7 separate regions of the Homo sapiens genome follow, and all the other regions are linked to region 3. Evidence: promoter capture Hi-C in 16 types of primary human blood cells and fetal thymus (Javierre and others, 2016). All regions are on one chromosome and are shown on one strand. The core of a region is centred on a gene start or on the middle of the fragment in contact, and the rest is flanking DNA. Distances in the headings are between cores, read along the strand shown. Region 1 has its middle 39 kb from the start of SHB. Region 2 overlaps SHB (SH2 domain containing adaptor protein B). Region 3 holds the start of IGFBPL1 (insulin like growth factor binding protein like 1). Region 4 overlaps SHB (SH2 domain containing adaptor protein B). Region 5 overlaps SHB (SH2 domain containing adaptor protein B). Region 6 overlaps SHB (SH2 domain containing adaptor protein B). Region 7 overlaps SHB (SH2 domain containing adaptor protein B).

Region 1 (2,700 bases), core at 110-2,609, 320 kb before region 3:
CGATGAGTCACATTTAATGAGTGTTTACCATATGTCAGGCTCTATCCTAAGTGCCTTATAGTTCTCTTAAGTTCTTTGATCCATAACAGCCCTATGCAATGGTACAAATATTATTCTTGTATTGAGTATGAGGAAACTGAAACACAGAGGGGTTTAGTAACTTGCCCAAGGTCACATAGCTAATAAGTGGCAAGCTTGGATTTGAACCCAGGGAGGCTGGCTCCTGAGAGAGAAGGAGCTCGTAAACACTATATTTTAGGGTGTCCCATATAACAAAGACTTACTTTCTTTGGATTTTTTTACCAAGTGATCATTCATGTAATGTATGTATGGACACTGTCACAGAATGTGCAGGTCAGTCAGGACAAAGTGGGAAAATCGGACACTTGATATCTTGATTCCTTCCTTTCCCCTTGCGATTTTACAAAGAAGGAAATTAAAGCCCAAAGACGGGGCAGGGGACCGGCCACCACCAGGAGGGTGATGGGCTCCCTGCCTCCCTCACAGTTTTGGCCGGGTGCAGTGGCTCACACCTGTAATCCCAGCACTTTGGGAGGCCGAGGCAGGTGGATCACTTGAGGTCAGGAGTTCAAGACCAGCCTGGTCAACATGGAGAAACCCCATCTCTACTAAAAATACAAAAATTAGCCAGGCATGGTGGTGCATGCCTATAATCTCAGCTACTCAGAAGGCTGAGCGGGAGAATCACTTGAACCCGGAAGGTGGAGGTTGCAGTGAGCCAAGATTGTGCCACTGCACTCTATCCTGGGTGACAGAGTGAGACTTTGTCTCAAAAGGAGAAGAAAAAAAAAAAAAAGGGCCCAAAGACGCATAATGACTTCCTTAAGGTTACAGCATGAAAACCAGACTGGAGGTCAGAACTCAACCCCCAAGCTGGGCTTTTCCCAGTATCATTCTTCGTTCTTAATGAGCCCTGTATCAGACTCTTAAGTGGTTCTGAACTCTCTTTCTCTGTCTTTGTTTCACAGTCCAAAGTCTTCTTAACCAGAAAGTGCATTTCCTCTTCAGTACCAGTAACCCCTGGTTCCAACTGCGTCAAAAACACTCCCTAGGCTTTCTCATGGCTGTCTTACCTGCTTTGCTGGGGCTATTTATGGAGGAAGAGCACAGGATCTGTTTTGCCTTTCATCAGAGTCAGGATCAGAGCAGAGAGGCTAGGACACAAACATTGAACCCCGAGATCCGGACCACATGACTAGGGTGGCGGAAACTGGGGCCCAGCCACAGCCAAAGCCATGGGGAGGCCATGCCAGCACAGCCATCACCCCATCATCTCCTCCCCTGGCTGTTCGTCTAATCCTCAACAGTGCTGAGATGCCACAGACTAGAAAGTGCTACAAGAAACCACACGGATTTGAGTGTCACAGTTGTGTGTGAAAAATACTGAACCAACTCTGGACTGGGAGTCAGGAGGCCTGGCTTCCGGGCTTGGCTCTTCCACTGACCAGCTATGAAGGTCTGGGCAAGTTGACACGCCCCTCTGGGCCTCTGTTTTCTCATGCGTGATAAGAGGTTAATCAGCTGCTTGCCTATCCTCACAGGATTACTGTGAGGCTGAAAAACAAAAGTGACAATGCTTTGGAGATAACAAAGCAGTGTAAAGATGTAAGGAATATTGTCATTGCACTGAGCTGGACCCAAGGTAGCAGCAGCTCTGGATCTCCTGCCCTGGTGATAAAGAGTTGTAGAAAAGGCTTTATCCACTCCCTTCTGCCATACCAAGACCTGCTCCCTGGAAGAGATTTGGGCAGTGGGAAAACAGAGCCCAGCCTGGGATTGTTTCCAACACCATGTGTTGGCTCTTTGGAGCACTGTGCCAGGAGTCAGGAGCCTGGGCTTTGGGCCCTACTCTACTGCAAACAAGCTGTGTACCCCAGCTGGGCTACAGTGTGAAAACCTGACTCTGCTAGTGTGGCCTCCCCATGACTGTGCCCAGGTCACCCCAGTCACATGGTCTGGATCTTACGCCCAGCATTCCTTTCCTAGTCCCTGTGCTCTGATCCTAACCTGATTAGAGCCAAATGAATCCTGTGCTTTCCCTCCATAAACAGCCCCAGCAAAGCAGGCTGAGCTAAGTGCTGCCACGTAGCCTCTCTTGGCTTCGGTCAGCTCTAAAAGTCTGATGCCACAATCAGATCATCAGCTTGAACACAGGGAGGTGGATCAGCTCTGAGATCTGAGGAAGGGGAAAAATGGTGGAAAAATACCTACTAAGCATTAGGTCCTTTCCATGTAATTGATCTCACCTCATTTATTCAGCCCACGGTTATGCCAAGCTCTGCGGCTGGTGCCGGGTACCGGCCATAAACAAGACAGACCTGGTTTTCTGGAGATTACAGTGAAGCAGGAGAGGTGGGCGTAAAACAAATGTTCACACAAATGCAGAATGACAATTGTGGTAATGGTACAAGGAAGAGAATAGAGCTATGGGGAGGGACCTAACCAGCCCATTATGGAGCTGAAACTTGACAGAGAATAAGTAGATGCCCAGCTAGAAGGGGGCTAAGCTTCCATGCAAAGGGAACAGGCGTGAAGGCCCTGAGGTTGGAAGGAGATTGCCATGACCCAGAGACCAAGCAAGAAAGCAAGTGTGTGTAAAATGTGGTGAGCAAGAGGGGCTGTTGCTGGCACTGATGTTGAGGGCCTGGCTGAGCTCTTTCTCTTGGCTATACTCAGAAG
Region 2 (2,700 bases), core at 121-2,620, 500 kb before region 3:
CCCAGCTTTGCCTGGAGAAGGGGTGTGGAAGGGCGAGAGAGCAGGGCTGGTAAGGAGGGGCTGCAGGTGCCAGGGACACTCAGCAGGGAGGAGGGTATGACCCTGGGCACATCATTCCCCTCTGCGTGCATGCACTGAGTGGCCTTACGTTTTTGGGGTGCTGGACCAGCAGGCTTTGTGATTCTCACAGATCTATACCTGGGGGACAGAGTGGAGGAGGTGTCAGGCAGAGGGTCACAGCCGCTGGCGGGAACTGAGTCTGCCAGTGTGCAGGTATGAAGCTGCAGGGGAACAAGCCAGTTTCATTTTCAAGGTTAGGAGAGTAACTCACATGGGTGAAGGCAACATTTCATATGAATTTGTTCTACGGCATCTGGCAAGGGAAGTGGACAGTGATAGCAGCAATGGCTCTGACAGAGTCCGAAGCAGAAGCTAAGCTCCTCTGTTCCCAGGTTAGGGGCTTAGAATGGCCACCAAGTACTAAAAGCCACACAATGTCCTCTGTACCTTGGCTGCCGACAGATAGCGAGGTGGGGCAGCTGCCAGGCTGAAGAGAGTCTAGACGTCCCCGGGAAGTCCCTCCTGCCTGTCTGAGCCTGCTGTTTATCACCCCCAACACACTCCTATCTCGCCTGTGTAAGCACCCACGAGTTTACCACCCTGAGCCAGGCTGTGCCGATGGGGCAGACTGGTCATGAAGCTCAGAGACCAAGGCAGAGCTGGGACCAGCACTTGGGCTCCATGAACCTCTAGTCTGTGGCCTGACCATTCTCAGGCAGAGGGAGAAAGGCGCGTTCACATGCTGACCCTCCTGGGCTCAAGCACTGCACCCCGTGGGTTCCCTGGCCCTCAGGCTATCCTTGTGCCTTGCTGGGCTCTGTCCCTTCTCCTGCTGCATCCACAGGGAGGCTGACTAGATGACCCTGGGGGGTACTTCCAGCCCTAGATCCTGGATTCCACATGTGCAAAACATAATCTGCTGCCTACCCGCTGAGGGCTTCCTGCAGGAAGGGGTCTGCAAGCAGCCTCACACCTTCCCTCCACCGCTGCCCTCATCCCCAGTCCTGCTTTCACTGGGGCATTGGCCAGGATTGCCTTCAGGGACAATCCTTCCTGTAGGCCAGGCTCTATGTCCTGAAGCACCGAGGTGCAGAAAGGGGAGGTGTCTGGCCCAAAGTCACACAGTGATTATCAGCAGCAGATGCCCAGAGTCAGTGCTCCTGACCTCAGCACTCCCCAGACCTGAGAGAGGGCCTCATGTAACCCTCAGTGTTCCATGTGAAGCCAGGCAGAGGGGGCGGATGAGAGGCGTCAGACTCTGAGCAAACATCCCCTCCACGCTGATCTTCCGCCTCCACAGCGCCCATGGTGCAGGGCTGACGGCAGGTCAGAGACAGCAGAGGGGCTGGGAGTAAAAGACAATGTGTGGCACCCACACAAGGGGCTGTGCCGAGGATTGGAAATGGCATGTTCTGATTGGTGGAGCCCCCCAGCCTGAGAGGCAGGGTGGTGACCGCCCCCCCAGGGGTCCGAGGTCCCGAGACTATCTGCCAATCCTCGACCAATGCAAGGGTCAGGTGACGCCTTGTCCACACACAGCCAGGAGACATGCTGTGACAATACATTCTCATTGGTTAAGGTCCCCATGAGGGAGATGCCATCTAACAGTTGAAGATTTAAAAGCAGCTGCCAGGAGTGGCTTCAGTGACTCCCACCTTCACACAAAAGGAGACGCGAGCATGAGCAAAGGAAGCATGAGCACTTCTGTGGAGAACAGAGGGGTTCATCAGGCAAGGAGTATGGCTGCTCCAGGCAGCATGTATTCTGAGCTGCAAGCAGCCTGGGGGTCACCTCTCACTCCCCTGGGGTACCGTGGAGGAAACTGAGGCCAGAGAGTACACTACCCTGGCCCAAGGCGCACAGCAAGGCAGGCTGCAGGTGAACCCAGAGCCCCGGCCCCGCATCCCGAGCCAGCTGAGCCGGGCTCCGAGCCACATCTCCTCCCACCCTTCTTCAAGGCAGCATGGGCTTCCACACCTCGGCACCGTCATCAGCACCATCGTCGTTCAGGGAGGGCATTGCCCCCGGGGAGCTTCAACAGGCTGCTATGCCTGCCAAGCTCCTGCATCAGCCACATCTCCTTTGATAGGACATCTTGCGAGGGCAAAGTCACAATGAGAGGTGTCTCTGGTGGGTGACCTGTCTAATGAGTCTTGTAAGGCTGGCAGAGGCCGGGGTGCTGGAGCTGTCACAGGCGTTCAGATCGCTCATTATCATCACAAAAAGCACCTCCTCATCATCAGGATTATCAAATGTGCCGGGCACGCAGGGCTAATAACAGGCCCCACCTTGCAGCGCAATCACGGGCTTTAATAAAACATTACTCAGCCTGCAGCTGCCGGCCGCCGAGCAGGGTGCGAGGCCTCACCTCTCGCTTTTAGACCTAATTGCTTGATGCATATTTCATGAAGAATCCTGGGTAATAGTTATGTTAAATCGCTTCTTTTCATGATGAAATGACTTAAAAATACTTGCATATAATATTTATGCAGGAGAAGGATGGAAATTGGCCTTTGGGACTAATGTGTGGGACCCAGTTACAGGACTCCAGACACAGAGGGGATTTCTGGTTTACCTTAGCTTGAAAGGTGCATGGGGAGCTGCTGTCCTGACCCAGATGTCCCCAGAACATTAGCCCTC
Region 3 (2,712 bases), core at 111-2,610:
CTAGTGGGTGGAATACACTCATGCTTAGGAAGCCGGTAAAGCAGTGCTAACGTTTTGGTTTCTTTTTGTTTGGTTTTCAAAAGGTACATAAAGAGGGTGGGCAACTATAGCACTCAGAGATTATTTTACTGTGATGTTAATGAAGCTTAAGTTTCTAAGTCCCTAGCATTTCATAATAAGTTTCTAAGTCCCTAGCAGTTCTATTCCTTTACTTAAGGCAGGACTCTCCAAATTATATATGTTTTAGAAGCACGAAACCTGAGTCTGCCCCTAATAGCACCACAATCTTTTCAGACCTTACGTCTCCAAAGGTCTTACTTCTCCTGGATGGAGCTCCCTCAGCATCCCAGCTCAGCCCCTTCCCACACCGGGGGCCCTGGTGCTCTGGTGCTGTGGCCTGGTGACTACTGATTCCCCAGTCTGGAACTCATCCTCCTCCTGCATCCTCAACTTCCCTTCCTCCCCTATCCTCTACTTCCCTTCCTCCCCCAACCTCAACTTCCCTTCCTCCCCATTCAAACAATCCACCTAGCGCTGGATACCTGGGAACTCGGATCCCCCTCCTTAACTCCCAGTCTCCTGCTGGGCAAACATACCATGCCTACAAATAAGTGACTGCATCAGCAGGTACTTAAGTACCAAAAGGGGTAGCAGGCTCACCAAAAATTCGACTAGCACAGTGAGTGGCGTCTCCAAGGATTCTCGCCCCAGTCTCTCTGAGCACGAGGAGAGATATGAAATACTGCTCCCTAAGGGGAAACTGAGTGCCAGGCAGCGCCGTCCACCACTGGGCAGGGGGATCCTTCGCTCCACACCCCAGAGGGTTGGAATCCCTCCTTCTCTACCCACCCAATCCCCGACCCTGACTCACCGAACTCGCAAGGGCCGTCGCGCGCCTTGTGCAGGTGACCGGGGTGCGCGCGGGGCGTGTGCCGAGCGCGCAGGCGCAGCGCGCAGACGCTGGGGTACGAGCGACCGTCGGAGCCGCAGACGGTGCCGCGCTGCGCGCACACGCAGAGCCCGGTGCCCTCGGGCGCTGCCCCAGCGGCCTGGCTCGCGCATACCAGGCCGGGGCCACAGCGCCCGCCGGCGCGGCCCCCGCAGCTCGCGCCCTCGGCTCCCAGGCAGCGGGCGCAGCAGCCGCACTCGTCGAGCGCCGAGATCCCGGGCGCCGGGCAGGGCGCAGGCGCCGGGCAGCCCTCTGGCCGGCACGGACCACACTTGGGGCGCCGGCCGCCCACGTCGCGGATCCCAAGGCTCGGGGACAGCGGCGGCAGCAGCGGCAGCAGCAGCAGAAGCAGCAGCGGCAAGAGCAGAGACAAGCGCGGCATGGCTTGCTCCGGGACAGCGGCGGCGCCTCTGCTTCGCGCTCCGCTCCGCGCCCGCCGAGCAGTCACCGCTCCCGCCCCGCGGCCGCTGATTGGCCGGGCCTGCACCGCGGGGCGCCCGCAGACCGCTGCTCCAGCCCGGGACCCGCGCGGTGCCCGCGGCCCGGGTCTCCGAGCTGGAGGGTCGCCCCGAGAGCAGCTCTCCGACCTCCGATTGGACTCTTGAGGGAACCGAGACCCAGTCGGGGCGACAACTTGCCCGAGGTCGCTATGGCAGAGTCAGGATTGGATAACCGTACGGTCTCCGGATCCAAGGCTGGCTCCAGATAGTATGCCCGTAAATCCTCCCAGAAGGATGCGCTATTTTATTTAATTTTATTTTGCATTCAGTAGTTTTCAAAGTTTTATTTTATAAAGAGAATATATGGTTTAAAATGTAGATTTTACATATACATCTAAGGATGAAAAGAGGGTTACCCTACCACCTTGTATCCCCATCCTCCAACTCGGCTTCCAGAGGCCACTCTTGCTATCGGGTTTTTGTATATCTTTTCAGAAATTTTCTCTATGCCTATAAAAGTACATGTGCCTAAAAAAGCCCCTTCCTTTAAAACACACACACTCTGTTTCTCTCTCACACACACAGAGTAGCGTGCCATACACATTAGTCTGCACTTGGTTTTTGCACTTACAGTGTTTCACAGTTTCCCCACCTCTTGTCATCTGTGAAACTGGGTTTCTTATACAATCAATGGGAGCATAGTTCATTGGCTCTGTGAGTGTGTTTCTTAATGCTGCATAAAGTCATGGTACATCTCCGTCCACAGTGACTTTGTTGTGATGAGATATGGTGATATATTTTGGAGTTCATACAGAGTGGCCTTTCCACAGGGTTTAGTTGCAGTTATTTAACCACTTATTTTCCATCCTTTGGTTAATACGAATAATGCTTTGATGAAGTCTTGGTGCACAAGGGTCAGTGTACCTGTGGCTTACTGGGGAATGCATGTTGGAAAGATGCAGTTTCTTGTAGTCAGTTATTCATGCCGCCGTTGCGCCTTCTCTGGGCCAGGCTCTGTGCACACCATCCTGCCTGAGTTCTGGCAGGGCACCCAGACGAGAAACCTAAGAGAGTCTTGGCTGCTGGGATTTGATGTGTTGCTGGGTAAATGCACTGGATGGAGGGAGGGACTCGCTGAGCAGGTTTTATAGGAGACTTTTCCTGCCTTTACTGGCCACCCCTCATGTGTCTTGTGCTCTATTGTTTTTTCTTTGCTGAACTCCTGGAGATGGAGAAAGCCTCTTGCAGCCTGGGAAGACCAGCTACACCGTTCTTGGGTGGGGTTCATTTTGCTTTTCAAGCCCAGTTCCTTCCCAGTTTGCA
Region 4 (2,700 bases), core at 38-2,537, 470 kb before region 3:
AGGCTCCAGAGACACCGGACCCACCCACTTTCTGGACTGTGCTGAGCGTGTGGCCAGCCTGCTACCCAGCAGTGACACCAACAGGTAGTCCACCCGCGATGACACTCCTAACCACTTATCCACATGTACTAGGCACACTTCAAGGCTGGGAAAATAGTGATGGGCACAACAGACAGAGATACCTGCCTTATGGAGCGCAGGGTCCTCGTGAGGAGAGACAGGCAATAAATCAATCTGCCTATCAGTGGCTGGGGACAAGTGCCACTGAGAAAAATACAGCAGGGCAGGAAAGCCCTCTCCAAAGGTGACATCTGAATAAATATCTGAAGGGAGGAAGGAACATCTGTAGGAAGGACACTCCAGGCAGAAGGAAGAACAAGTTCAAGGGCCCTGGGGTGGGACTGTGCCTAGAGTGAGACACAAAATGATCCAGAGTGACTGGAAGGGAGTTGGGAAGGAAGCTGGGCTTCCTAGTCTTGGGAAGGACTCTGGCTTTGTTCTGAGAGACGTGGAGAGCCGTTCTGACTGGGCGCTTCCTTACAGGATTGCTGTGCTGAAAAGAGATGGAGGCAAGGGGTGTATGGGAACACTCTGGACTCTGTCTGATTTTGCTGTGAACCTAAAACTGCTCTAGAAAGTATAGCTGGCTAATTAGAGGGACAGAGAGCATGTGTACACGGGCACACAGGAGGGCAGCGAGGCAGTGCCCGCCAGTGGTCAGATCCAGCCACATTCTGCAGGCAGAGATGGCAGGACTCGCCTGTGCATGCAAAGTGCACCATGAGAGGAGGACTACGGGTGACCACAGGCTGAAGTGCAGCATCAGAGAAGGACGACTACTGGTGACCACAGGCTGTTGACCTAAGCGCTGGAAGGATGGGCTGGCCTTACCTATGAGAGGAAGACTCACCAAAGGCCCTAATTAAGCTTCCAGAAAGCAGCATGGAGGCCATGCCTTAACCTAGAGACACCCACAGCTCCGTGATGCCAGGGCTGGTGGTGTGGAGAGGAGGCAGAGTGAGGACTCGCTGGGGGTTCCTGCCCTTCCTTCTGGCCACAGTTCTTTCCTGTGTCCAACTACACACAGACAGCAATGACCTCAAGGCCTTCCCAGGGGACAGGTCCTGGGGCTGGAGAGTGAGAAGGCCCTTTCCCATCAGCTAATAAGGGGGCTTTTGTGATAGTGGCCTAAAACCTGGAGCTGGGGCCCTAGCACACACATCACCACCAGCATCTACCCCTCGCTGGCCTTCCAGTAGCCTGGATCTCCCAGTGGGGTTCTGGCTGAATGACGGCACCCTGATGGCAACCAATCATGGGACATATGGTCTTGGACAGGGGGTTGGGAGAAGGAGAGAAAGAGGTGAAGCAGGTTCTTACCCGAGCCCCTACTTTGCAGAGCCCTCCATGGGTGACCTTGGGCAGGGGAGAGCACTGGGGCTAGACAGACAAATTGGGGCCATGTCATCCTGGAGCCCCTTTCTAAAGAGCTTGGACTTGAACTTATAGATGGGGATAATCAGAGAATGGGCTTTAGAGACCTCTCTGAGTGCTGGTGGAGGGTGGGTTTGGGGTCAATCCTGAAGACGGGAAGACCAGTCAGGGAAAGGTGATGGAGGCTGACCCCCTCAATGACGGGAGGGATGTAGAAGCTTGACTACTTGTGGGAGTGAGTCCGGGATAACTGCTGTGTGATGCCCAGATTTCTGGCTTGGGGGAGGGTGATGCCCCCATTGGGATGGGCACAGAAGGGGATGTGGTCAGGGAGCATGGGACTAGCCTGCACTTCTCCATGATGCCTCCCTGCTGCTAATTTTCTGGTTGTCAGGAATAGAGAGGATACAACTCAGCAGGCATCCTGGCCCATAGGGCTGCCAGCGTTGAAGGGCTGCGGCTTGCCCTGGCATAGGAAGGGGACTAAGCTGGAAGTGAGGTTCTAGGCTTAGTTTTGCCACAGGCTCAGGAGACCGAGGGACCAGATGAATTATAAGTCACTTTCACTCCTGACATCCTGGGGCTCCACTGGCTAAAATCAGGATTGGGGGATTTCTGCCAATATAAATCTCTACAATCGACATCCCGACACAGAAGGTGAGCAGAGAGGCATGGAGCACAGAACATGATTGTGGAGGGAGCCCAAGCTTTTCGGCACAACCCAAAAGGCTCTCTAGGACCCGGCTGCTTGTCCAGCCTCAGGTCCACCAATCTCTTCACCTCACTAATACCACTTACCCTCCAGAGGTCACCTATTTCAGGAAGCCTTCCTGGACCTCACCTCTCCCAAGACTCACCTTGATCTTAGCACCCTAACTGCATGTCCTACCCTGGCTCCCGGTGAGCCCCCTGAGGGTAGGGGCTGTATCATGTGCCCCTTCCCCCATACCTAGCCCATTACCGGCAACATAACAGGTGCTCAATAAGTGATTAAATGAAGAAACTTAATGAACTGCTGTTTAGCTTTATTGGGAAAAAAAAATCGGTTTCATACCAGATAAATTGGATAAAAACTAGTAACGTCCTAGTCAACAATGTAATTCCCCACTGAAATAATTTACACATTTGCTGGCAAGCTTAATAATATAGCCATATATCTTAGAGAGAACAGGTGGTGATGAGTGACAGGCTTAATTAGGCAAATCATTTCACCTAAAATACAAATATACAAACTCCAAGTGCAGTGATTCGGCAGCCTAAGAAAAA
Region 5 (2,700 bases), core at 154-2,653, 440 kb before region 3:
TTCCAATGCACACAAAAGTTATATTTATATTATACTGTAGTTTATTAAATGTGCAATACCACTGCCTTAAAAAAATGTAGAACCTTAATTTTAAAAATATTTTATTGCCAAAAACTGCTTACAATCATCTAAGCCTTCAGTGAGTCATCTTTTTGCTGGTGGAGGGTCTTGCTTTGATGTTGCCGGCTGCCGACTGATCAGGGTGGTAGTTCCTGAAGGCTGAGGTGGCTGTGGAAAATTTTTTATGCCCCTCCCCCCAGCTGTGGGAATTTCTTAAAATGAGACAATAAAATTTGCCACATAGATTGACTCTTCCTTTCACGAAAGATTTCTCTTAGCGAAAGGCTGTTTTATAACATTTTACCCACGGCAGAACTTCTTTCAAAATTGGAGTCAATCTTTTCAAACTCTGCTGCTGCTTCATCAACTAAGTTTATGTACTATTCTAAATCCTATGTTGTCATTTTAACAATGTTCCCAGCATCTTCATCAGGAATAGATTCTATCTCAAGAAAACTGTCTTTGCTCATCCATAAGAAGCAACTCTTTATTTGTTCAAGTTTGATCATAAGATTCCTGCAATTCAGTTACATCTTCAGACTCCACTTCTAATGCTAGTTCTCTTGTTATTTTCATCATATTTGCAGTTACTTCCTCCACTGAAGTCTTGAAGGCCTCAAAGTCATCTGTGAGGACTGGACTCTTCTTCCAAACTCCTGTTAATGTGGCTATTTTGACCCCTTTCATGAATCACAAATGTACTTAATGGCTTCTAGAACAGTAAATCTTCCCCAGAAGGTTTTCAGTTTACTTTGCCCAGGTCCATCAGAGGAATCACTATCTCTGGCAGCTATAGCCTTATGAGATGTATTTCTTAAATAATAAGACTTCAAAGTTGAGATTACTCCTTGATCCATGGGCCGCGGAATGGATGTTGTGTTAGCAGGCATGAAAACAACATTCATCTCCTCGTACATCCCCAGCTGAGCTCTTGGGTGACCAAGAACAGTGTCAATCAGCAGTAGTATCTTTAAAGGAATCTTTTTTTCCTTAAAGTTGGTCTCAAAAGTGGGCTTAAAATATTCAGTAAACCATGCTGTAAACAGAGGAACTGCCATCCAGGCTTTGTTGTTCCATTCACAGGGCACGAGCAGGGTAGATTTAGCATAATTCTTAAGGGCTCCAGGATTTTTCAGAATGGCAAATGAGCACTGGCTTCAACTTACAATCACCAGCTGCATTAGTCCCTAACAAGAGAGGCAGCCTGTCCTTTGAAGCTTTGAAGCCAGGCATTGACTTCCCTATGGCTCTGAAAGTCCTAGATGGCATCTTCTTCCAATAGAAGGCTGCTTTGTCTACACTGAAAATCTGTTGTTTTGCATAGCCACCTTCATCGATGACCTCAGCTAGATCTTCTGGATAACTTGCTGCAGTTTCTACATCAGCACTTGCTGCTTCACCACACACTTCCATGTTATGGAAATGGCTTCTTTCCTTAAACCTCAGAAATCAACCTCTGTTAGCTTTTCTGAAGCTTCCTCCACTCTCTCAGCCTTCACAGAATTGAAGAGTTAGGGCCTTGCTCCAGATTAGGCTTTGATTTAAGGGAATTTGTGGCTGGTTTGAGCTTCTATCTAGACCAAACTCTCTCTCTAATAGCAACAAGGCTGTTTTGCTTTCTTTTCAATTGTGTATTCGCAGGAGTGACACTTTTAATTTTCTTCAACTTTTCCTTTACATCCACAACCTGGCTAACTATTCGGTGCAAGAAGCCTACCTTTTGGCAGATCTCGGTTTTTGACATGACTTCTGCACTAGGCTTATTTCCAAGATTTTGGTTTAAAGTGAGAGATGTGTGACTCTCCCTTTCCTTTGAACATGTAGAGGCCATTGTTGAATTATTAATAGGCCTGATTTCAACATTGTTGTGTTTTACAGAATAGAGAGGCCCAAGGAGAGGGGAAGAGATGAAGGAATGGTCAGTCAGTGGGGCAGTCAGAACACACATAACATTTATTAAGTTCGCCATCTTCTGTGGGTGCAGTTTGTGGTGCCCCAAAACAATTACAACAGTAACATCAAAGATCACTGATCACAGGTCACCGTAACAGCTATAATAATAAAAAGGTTTGAAATATGAGAATTACCAAAATGTGACACAGAGACACAAAATGAGCACACGCTGTTGGAAAAATGATGCTGATAGACTTACTTGAAGGAAGGTTGCCACAAACCTTCATTTTGTAAAAAAAAAAAAAATGCAATACCTGCAAACCACAATGAAGCAATGCACAATAAAATGAAGTATGCCTAAACATTTTATTATGGAGAGTCTCAAAATCTGTATTTTGAAAGAAGATGGGCCAGATGTGGTGGCTCACGCCTGTACTCCTAGCGCTTTGGGAGGCCAAGGGGGGTGGATCACCTGAGGACAGGAGTTCGAGACCAGCCTGGCCAACATGGTAAAACCCCGTCTCTACTAAAAATACAAAAATTAGAGGGGTGTGGTGGTGGGCACCTATAATCCCAGCTACTGGGAAGGCTGAGGCAGGAGAATTGCTTGTACCCAGGGGGCGGAGGTTGCAGTGAGCTGAGATTGCGCCACTTTACTCCAGCCGGGGCAAAAGAGCAAAACTCCGTCTCAAAAAAAATGGATAAGTAGGCCGGGTGCAGTGGCTCACACCTGTAATCCCACCACTT
Region 6 (2,700 bases), core at 84-2,583, 420 kb before region 3:
GGATCTATCTCAGGCCCATGTGCTTCCCTCAGCCCAGGGTCCATCCGGCCCATTGACTGCCTGCCCTGCTCCTGCCTGGGCTTTGGAACACAACTCCCAGGTTCCTGGAGGTGCTCCCAGGCCCCCAGCTGTTGCGGAAGCCTCTGCTCCAGGTTTCTTACTGGAAAATGGAAACAACCCAGGCGCTCCCTCCCTGGGCCTTAGGGAGGCTTAGGAGAGATGCTGTGAAGGGCATGAGAGCACAGGGCTTCAGTAAACACCACCTGAGCAGAAAACTGAATGCCAGCTGGCCTGGTTCTGCCTTGAGCCACAGGCACCTGGGGAAAGCAGCAGATCGGGAGCCTGAAGCATGCAGAGGCTTCTGGGGAAGGTGAACCTGAGCTGCTGGGGGCTGCGTGGGACTCGGAAGGGAAGGGCCGCGGTGGAGCTGAGTGAATAAAGATCTGCTGAGGAGGTGGGCGCCCCCCAGCCCACCCTCCCAGGGCTGTGCTGGCAAAGGTGGGGGGACCAGGCCAGAGGTGTTCTGAACTGGGCAGCAAGAGGCTAGAGCTGAAGGCAGGCATGATGAAGGCCATTCACTTCAGGAAGTTGAGGACTCCAGAACCCAGCCTGAGGGGCAGAGGGTGGGGAAGGGGGACCCAGGGGCCAAGAGAGGCCCACTAGGGCAGCATGAAGACTTGGAAGGCCCCCGACCTGGTGAGGAGTTGCCAGAGAGGGTAGCTTCACGGAGGGCTGTGTGGCTGGGGGCACGGGCACATGAGTGCATGTGCCAGCGTCCACGCAGAGACTCGAGGCTTAGCAGATGGGAAGGAACACGGCCACAGGCCAGCAAGTGAGAGATCAGCTGAGGTGCCAGGGACAGGATACACACTGCCCCATTGGCCAGGGCAGAGGTGAGCCGGCCCAGCAGGCATGAGACCCAGTTCTGGGAGCTGAGAGATTTGTGGGGGATGTTTACTCACCATGTGCACACATCATTCCACCAAAACCAGCAAGTTCTGGATGAGGGGACATTCTTCACCAGAAAGTTCCAGGCCAAAACCTCAAACACAGGGCACCGACAGTCTGAGCACAAGACACCCTGGCCCCGGCCTGTCCTGTCATCCTGCCCTCCAGGGGTTCCCAGTCTAGCAGATACATCACAGTGGACATGGTGAGGGCTGTGACGGCATATGGACAGAATGGGGTGACGTGGGCAGTAGGAAAAGAGAGGCCCAAAAGTTGAGGCTTGGGCTTGGGAGACGGCCCCTCTTTCGGTGCTTTAAGGTGGCCAGGTACAATTACACGCCTATACCCTGAAAGGGAGAGTGAAGAGGTGGCATTTTATTTCCTTCTGCTCAGCTGCCTGTTTTGGAAAAGGACCACAGCCAGCCCTCACTAACCACAGGAACGCAAACGGGCCAAGCTGGCTGAAAGGGAGAAGGCAGGACTCTCCAGGAGATGGGGAAGAGCACTGAACCTGAGGCACCGGCTACATTGCCGCCACCAAGGGAGGACTCAGACCTGCTGTTACTCAGCATCCCTCCCTTGCATCACCAGGCAGTGATCCCTGTAGGGAGAAGGGGCCAGAAGTCCTGTCAGCCACCAGGACTCAGCTTTCTCATCTGCAAAATGGAAATCATCTCATCTGCTTCCTCTCGGAGCCTTAGGGAGAGTCCTGGTATCATATATAAAAGGTACCCTTTAAACACAGACTGCTGTCATCTCTGTAAGTTTCCAGAAAGCCAGCCTGAGCCCTACTTAGAGGAGAGTACTAATTAATTAGTCAAATAATAGGGTGTGGGGCAAATCACGGAATCTCCTCCTTCAGGCTTCTGAAAGGCAGGAACTGTGGCCGGCTGTCTCCTTGGCCACTCCCTGCATACTACTCCTCTCCCCAGACCAGAAACACAGGCCAGGACTTCTCATGGTGGCCCCCAGGTCCCTGGAATAGTTTGGGGCCCTCCTCTGATCTGACTCCAGCACCTTCCCTAACACATGAATGCATTCAATCTCTCCCAAGCACCTAGCTGGCTGCTCCCACCTCAAAGGTGACCACATCTCAACTCTGACTCCTCCCCAGGAACCTCCCTTCCCTACTCAGATAGGACAGGCCCCATCAGGTGACTGACTTTCCCATCCTCCCACTAACAGAGGACCCCACTGGTGGTGTCATCCCACCCTCTCCTCTCCCTTCCACACAGCACCCACTGGCTGGTGGGCCCTTCCACCACACCTACCCTGACTCCACAGCACCTGACCTGGCCTAGATGATTGCTATAGCCTCGGAACCATAGAACCTGTCTCCCTGCCTCTTGCTAGGCGCTGCAAGATTCCATCCCACACTCCCAGGCGGGCCTGTTTTCCTAAATGACTTCCTAATCGTGCCACACCCCTGCAGTGTGGGTTTCCGCAAGGTTTCCACACCCTGCCCAGCACGCAGGGAGCTGGGCGGGTACAGGATGCAGGAGCTTTGCTGCAGATTAATCTGAGTCTCCCTGAGCCTATTTCAGGACAGGTATCTCCATCAGTTTCTGCACTTTCAGATCTTTTAATGTCTCTCTGGGATTCTGAAATGCAAGGCTGAGGCAGGCCTGGGGAGGTGAACTCCTCCATTTCACATTCCTATTCCTGTATTTCTACCTTGGGTAAAATGCACGTTTCTCTCACAGCTGCCAGGAAAGACAAGGAGTTAGGGATGTGTTCCGAGGGGCCTGAGCC
Region 7 (2,700 bases), core at 145-2,644, 480 kb before region 3:
CGGGCAGTTGGAATGCTTCCCTGGTGGCGGAGCCGCACAGGCAGATTTATGTGGGCTGATACGAGACAATTAAAAACCGGCTGGAAATGTAATCGCGGCTGCTCAGATGCTGGAGAAGACCAAGGAGCTCCGGTAAAACAAAGGGCACTGCTCCATCCCTGGCTCAGACGGGAGACGCAGCAGTCCAGGGAGGGAACCCCAGCCTGTTGACGGGCACGTCTGGCACTGCCGGGTTGGGGGGTGGTGCACTGGGCCGTGAACTGGCAGAGTGAGGCAGAATGAGAGCAGGCACCTCTTGCCTCTGCGTTTTAGGCAGCATTGGGAAGGGGGAAGCTGAGCTGCAGGGAGTCTGTTTTCCTGGTCTTTTCCAGGTCTACGTTGCAGCCGGGAGAGCCACTATCCACCCAGCTGCTCCGAAATCTGGATGTGGTCCTTGACTCCTCACTCCTCCTCCCTCTCATCAATTCTACCTCCACACACCTCTCCTTTCTACTCCCACTGCCCTAGTCCTTCTCTCCTGATCTATATCACACACCCAGGGCCAGATAGGGCTTCCTAAACTTCTCTCTCATCAGGTATGTAGGCCGCCTGCCACTGGCCCCTCTGAATTGGCCTTGGCCTCCTAGTTTGCTACCAGATAGTCTCAGCATCATCAGCCTAGCACCTGAGTGCAAATGGAGAACTTCTAAGCTTAGCTGGAGCAAATGGCTGAGAAGGGTCAGGAAAGAACAGTGGTCCAGGAGCTGGGCAGGCTCAGCCTCTGCCCCTCCCTGACAACACGGCCTTAAGACAGGTTAAGCCCCTTTGAGCCTCTGTTTCCTCTTCTGTAAAGTAGGAGCAATGAGTTGCGCTTTCTTCACAGCTCCTTGAGGGCTGGACCCAGAGAAGAAACTAGACTCTTCTATTTGGGTCATGGATGCTGACACTGTTGGCTCAGAACCAGCCCCTCTGGTTTCAGGTCTCTGGGCTTTCTCCATGTCACCACTGCCTGGGGAAAGGGGTCTGAGAAATGCTGGGCACAGGGCTCATGGTCACAGGTCCTGTCAGAAAATCCAGCTTTGGTCCAGAGAACTAGTTGGCCATTGGCTGGGCTTCTCAGGGCCTGCTAGGGAGGAATGGGGGTGTTTCTATTCCGAGAGACCCCACAAGGTAGAAAGAGGCCTCGAGCTGTGTTGCAATCTCATCTCTTTACTCATTAACTGTGACGTAATGTGAACACCAGTTTCTTTATCTGTAAAAATGATGGCAATGGTTGCTACTCTTCTTGAACATACTATCACAGTGTGAAAGCTGGCTATTCCCAAATATCAGGCCCTGTGCTGGGCATGCTGACCCGTATCACCTCACTCACATGTTACAGCAGCCCAGAGCAGGTGGCGGGGCAGGATTTACACTTGCTGTGCTAGAGAGTAAACAGAGGGCTCAGAGAATATGCAGAACTCAAACTAGGGTCTGTCTGAACCCTTCAGAAAGGAAGGGTGCAAATCATGGTGACTAGTTTGGGATCCCGTAACTTGTCAGAGGCAGAGCTAGGATTTGAACCCAGGTCTCCTGGGCATAGGCCCAGGGCTGTTCCTACACTCTCCACCCCCACTGCACCAGAATCACCAAAGCACCAGGCTCAGAGTCCAGAAGAGGTGCCAGTCTAATGTTGAGGGTGGCGTCCTTGGCAATGTTTTACCACCAGCAGGGCACATTTTCTCAGTAATTCTGAATAAAGGGAAATGTCATCTAATATTCCTCACAGTGTCCCCTCAATGGTGCACTCTCTTATCCTGCAAGGCATCTGCACATTCTAAAGTTCACTGTTCTCATTTAGTCCTCTGCAAAGAGTGTTTGAGGAGTCTCTGTTTTGCCTACAGCAGTGGCTTCTAATTGTGGCATTTCTTTTAAACCTTTTAGAAGGAGAAAACACGAAGCACGCTAATTGAGCAGAAAGTTCATTTTTCCTCCATGAGCCCTGAAAGGACATGAAATCCTCCATGCGATAAGAGCAAAGAGACAGACCCCCTCTTCCCCCACCACCCCTGCTGCCCTGACTCAGGCTGGCTCAAATGCTGCTAGCAAACAGCTTGCCTGCTGGGAAAGCCAGAGGCAGGCAAGCTTCTTCCTCTTTCTGGGCCTCAGTATCTCCACTTGTTCAAGATATTGGACCAGAAAATTGAAAAAGTCTCTTTCTGTTCCCTAAACCCCAAGATTTCTGCTTAGGGTATTCCTGGAGCTGCTACCTTGACTGGCTGCCAACATGCTTCCCTATGAGATGAGGAGGCCAGACCACAAGTTCGGAAGATGGGCAGGAGAGCTGGAGGGGCAGCAGCATGGTGATGAAAAAGGATACCTGTTGAGTGGTCATCATCTCCAGCTCCTGATGAGCAACTAGGAGGTCAGAGAAGTTCACTCATTCATCCAAGGTCACACCAAAGCACAACGTACAGAGTGCAAGAGAGGTGAGAGGTTCAAGACAGGTTATCCAGGAAGAGGGGAGCCTGGATTGGACTCCAGTTCTGTGAGATTCTCTAGCATTCTTTCCAGCTGTAGCCAATAAAATCTAGAACCCATCATCGTAAAGGACAGTGGATGTGGGCACAGATGGAGACTTCCAGGTTGAACCCAGACAATTTGCAATGCACTGGGACACACCGAGCTCTTTCCCCAACAACCCGTGGCTCTCTGAGGTCCATAATAAAGACATTTGAGCTA

Evidence for each region. Contacts are between HindIII fragments. The CHiCAGO score rates a contact against its expected background, and 5 or more counts as called.
Region 1: a fragment that was not itself captured here is called in contact with the fragment with the promoter of IGFBPL1 in region 3 in 1 of 17 cell types (naive CD4 T cells); the score reaches 5.2 in naive CD4 T cells.
Region 2: a contact is called between a fragment that was not itself captured here and the fragment with the promoter of IGFBPL1 in region 3, in 13 of 17 cell types (naive B cells, total CD8 T cells, naive CD8 T cells and 10 more). The highest score is 22.0, in naive B cells.
Region 4: a contact is called between a fragment that was not itself captured here and the fragment with the promoter of IGFBPL1 in region 3, in 1 of 17 cell types (total B cells). The highest score is 5.0, in total B cells.
Region 5: a fragment that was not itself captured here is called in contact with the fragment with the promoter of IGFBPL1 in region 3 in 1 of 17 cell types (total CD8 T cells); the score reaches 6.8 in total CD8 T cells.
Region 6: a fragment that was not itself captured here is called in contact with the fragment with the promoter of IGFBPL1 in region 3 in 2 of 17 cell types (naive B cells and total CD8 T cells); the score reaches 5.7 in naive B cells.
Region 7: a fragment that was not itself captured here is called in contact with the fragment with the promoter of IGFBPL1 in region 3 in 6 of 17 cell types (naive B cells, activated CD4 T cells, naive CD4 T cells and 3 more); the score reaches 8.9 in naive B cells.

What each region holds. Positions count from the first base shown.
Region 1 is chr9:38,106,641-38,109,340 of GRCh38, forward strand. No RefSeq gene overlaps it. Among named protein-coding and RNA genes, the nearest start is that of SHB, 39 kb to the left of the region's middle. RefSeq lists an enhancer at 1,171-1,350. The HindIII fragment of the contact is 2,334 bases long and covers 193-2,526 here.
Region 2 is chr9:37,921,931-37,924,630 of GRCh38, forward strand. The region is part of intron 5 of SHB (SH2 domain containing adaptor protein B); the gene reads right to left. Among named protein-coding and RNA genes, the nearest start is that of SLC25A51, 19 kb to the left of the region's middle. RefSeq lists enhancers at 424-523, 1,270-1,881, 1,382-1,676. The HindIII fragment of the contact is 3,831 bases long and covers 1-2,700 here.
Region 3 is chr9:38,423,094-38,425,805 of GRCh38, forward strand. IGFBPL1 (insulin like growth factor binding protein like 1) reads right to left here and starts at 1,361. Exons shown (of 5, transcript NM_001007563.3): 1 at 872-1,361. The coding sequence starts at 1,331. It overlaps LOC105376041 (a long non-coding RNA gene), which reads left to right and starts at 1,518. Exons shown (of 8, transcript XR_007061487.1): 1 at 1,518-1,657. RefSeq lists an enhancer at 2,406-2,712. The HindIII fragment of the contact is 4,043 bases long and covers 144-2,712 here.
Region 4 is chr9:37,957,522-37,960,221 of GRCh38, forward strand. All of the region lies in intron 3 of SHB (SH2 domain containing adaptor protein B), which reads right to left. Among named protein-coding and RNA genes, the nearest start is that of SLC25A51, 55 kb to the left of the region's middle. The HindIII fragment of the contact is 725 bases long and covers 926-1,650 here.
Region 5 is chr9:37,979,850-37,982,549 of GRCh38, forward strand. The region is part of intron 2 of SHB (SH2 domain containing adaptor protein B); the gene reads right to left. Among named protein-coding and RNA genes, the nearest start is that of SLC25A51, 77 kb to the left of the region's middle. The HindIII fragment of the contact is 257 bases long and covers 1,276-1,532 here.
Region 6 is chr9:38,003,984-38,006,683 of GRCh38, forward strand. All of the region lies in intron 2 of SHB (SH2 domain containing adaptor protein B), which reads right to left. Among named protein-coding and RNA genes, the nearest start is that of SHB, 64 kb to the right of the region's middle. The HindIII fragment of the contact is 5,190 bases long and covers 1-2,700 here.
Region 7 is chr9:37,938,577-37,941,276 of GRCh38, forward strand. All of the region lies in intron 5 of SHB (SH2 domain containing adaptor protein B), which reads right to left. Among named protein-coding and RNA genes, the nearest start is that of SLC25A51, 36 kb to the left of the region's middle. The HindIII fragment of the contact is 1,413 bases long and covers 689-2,101 here.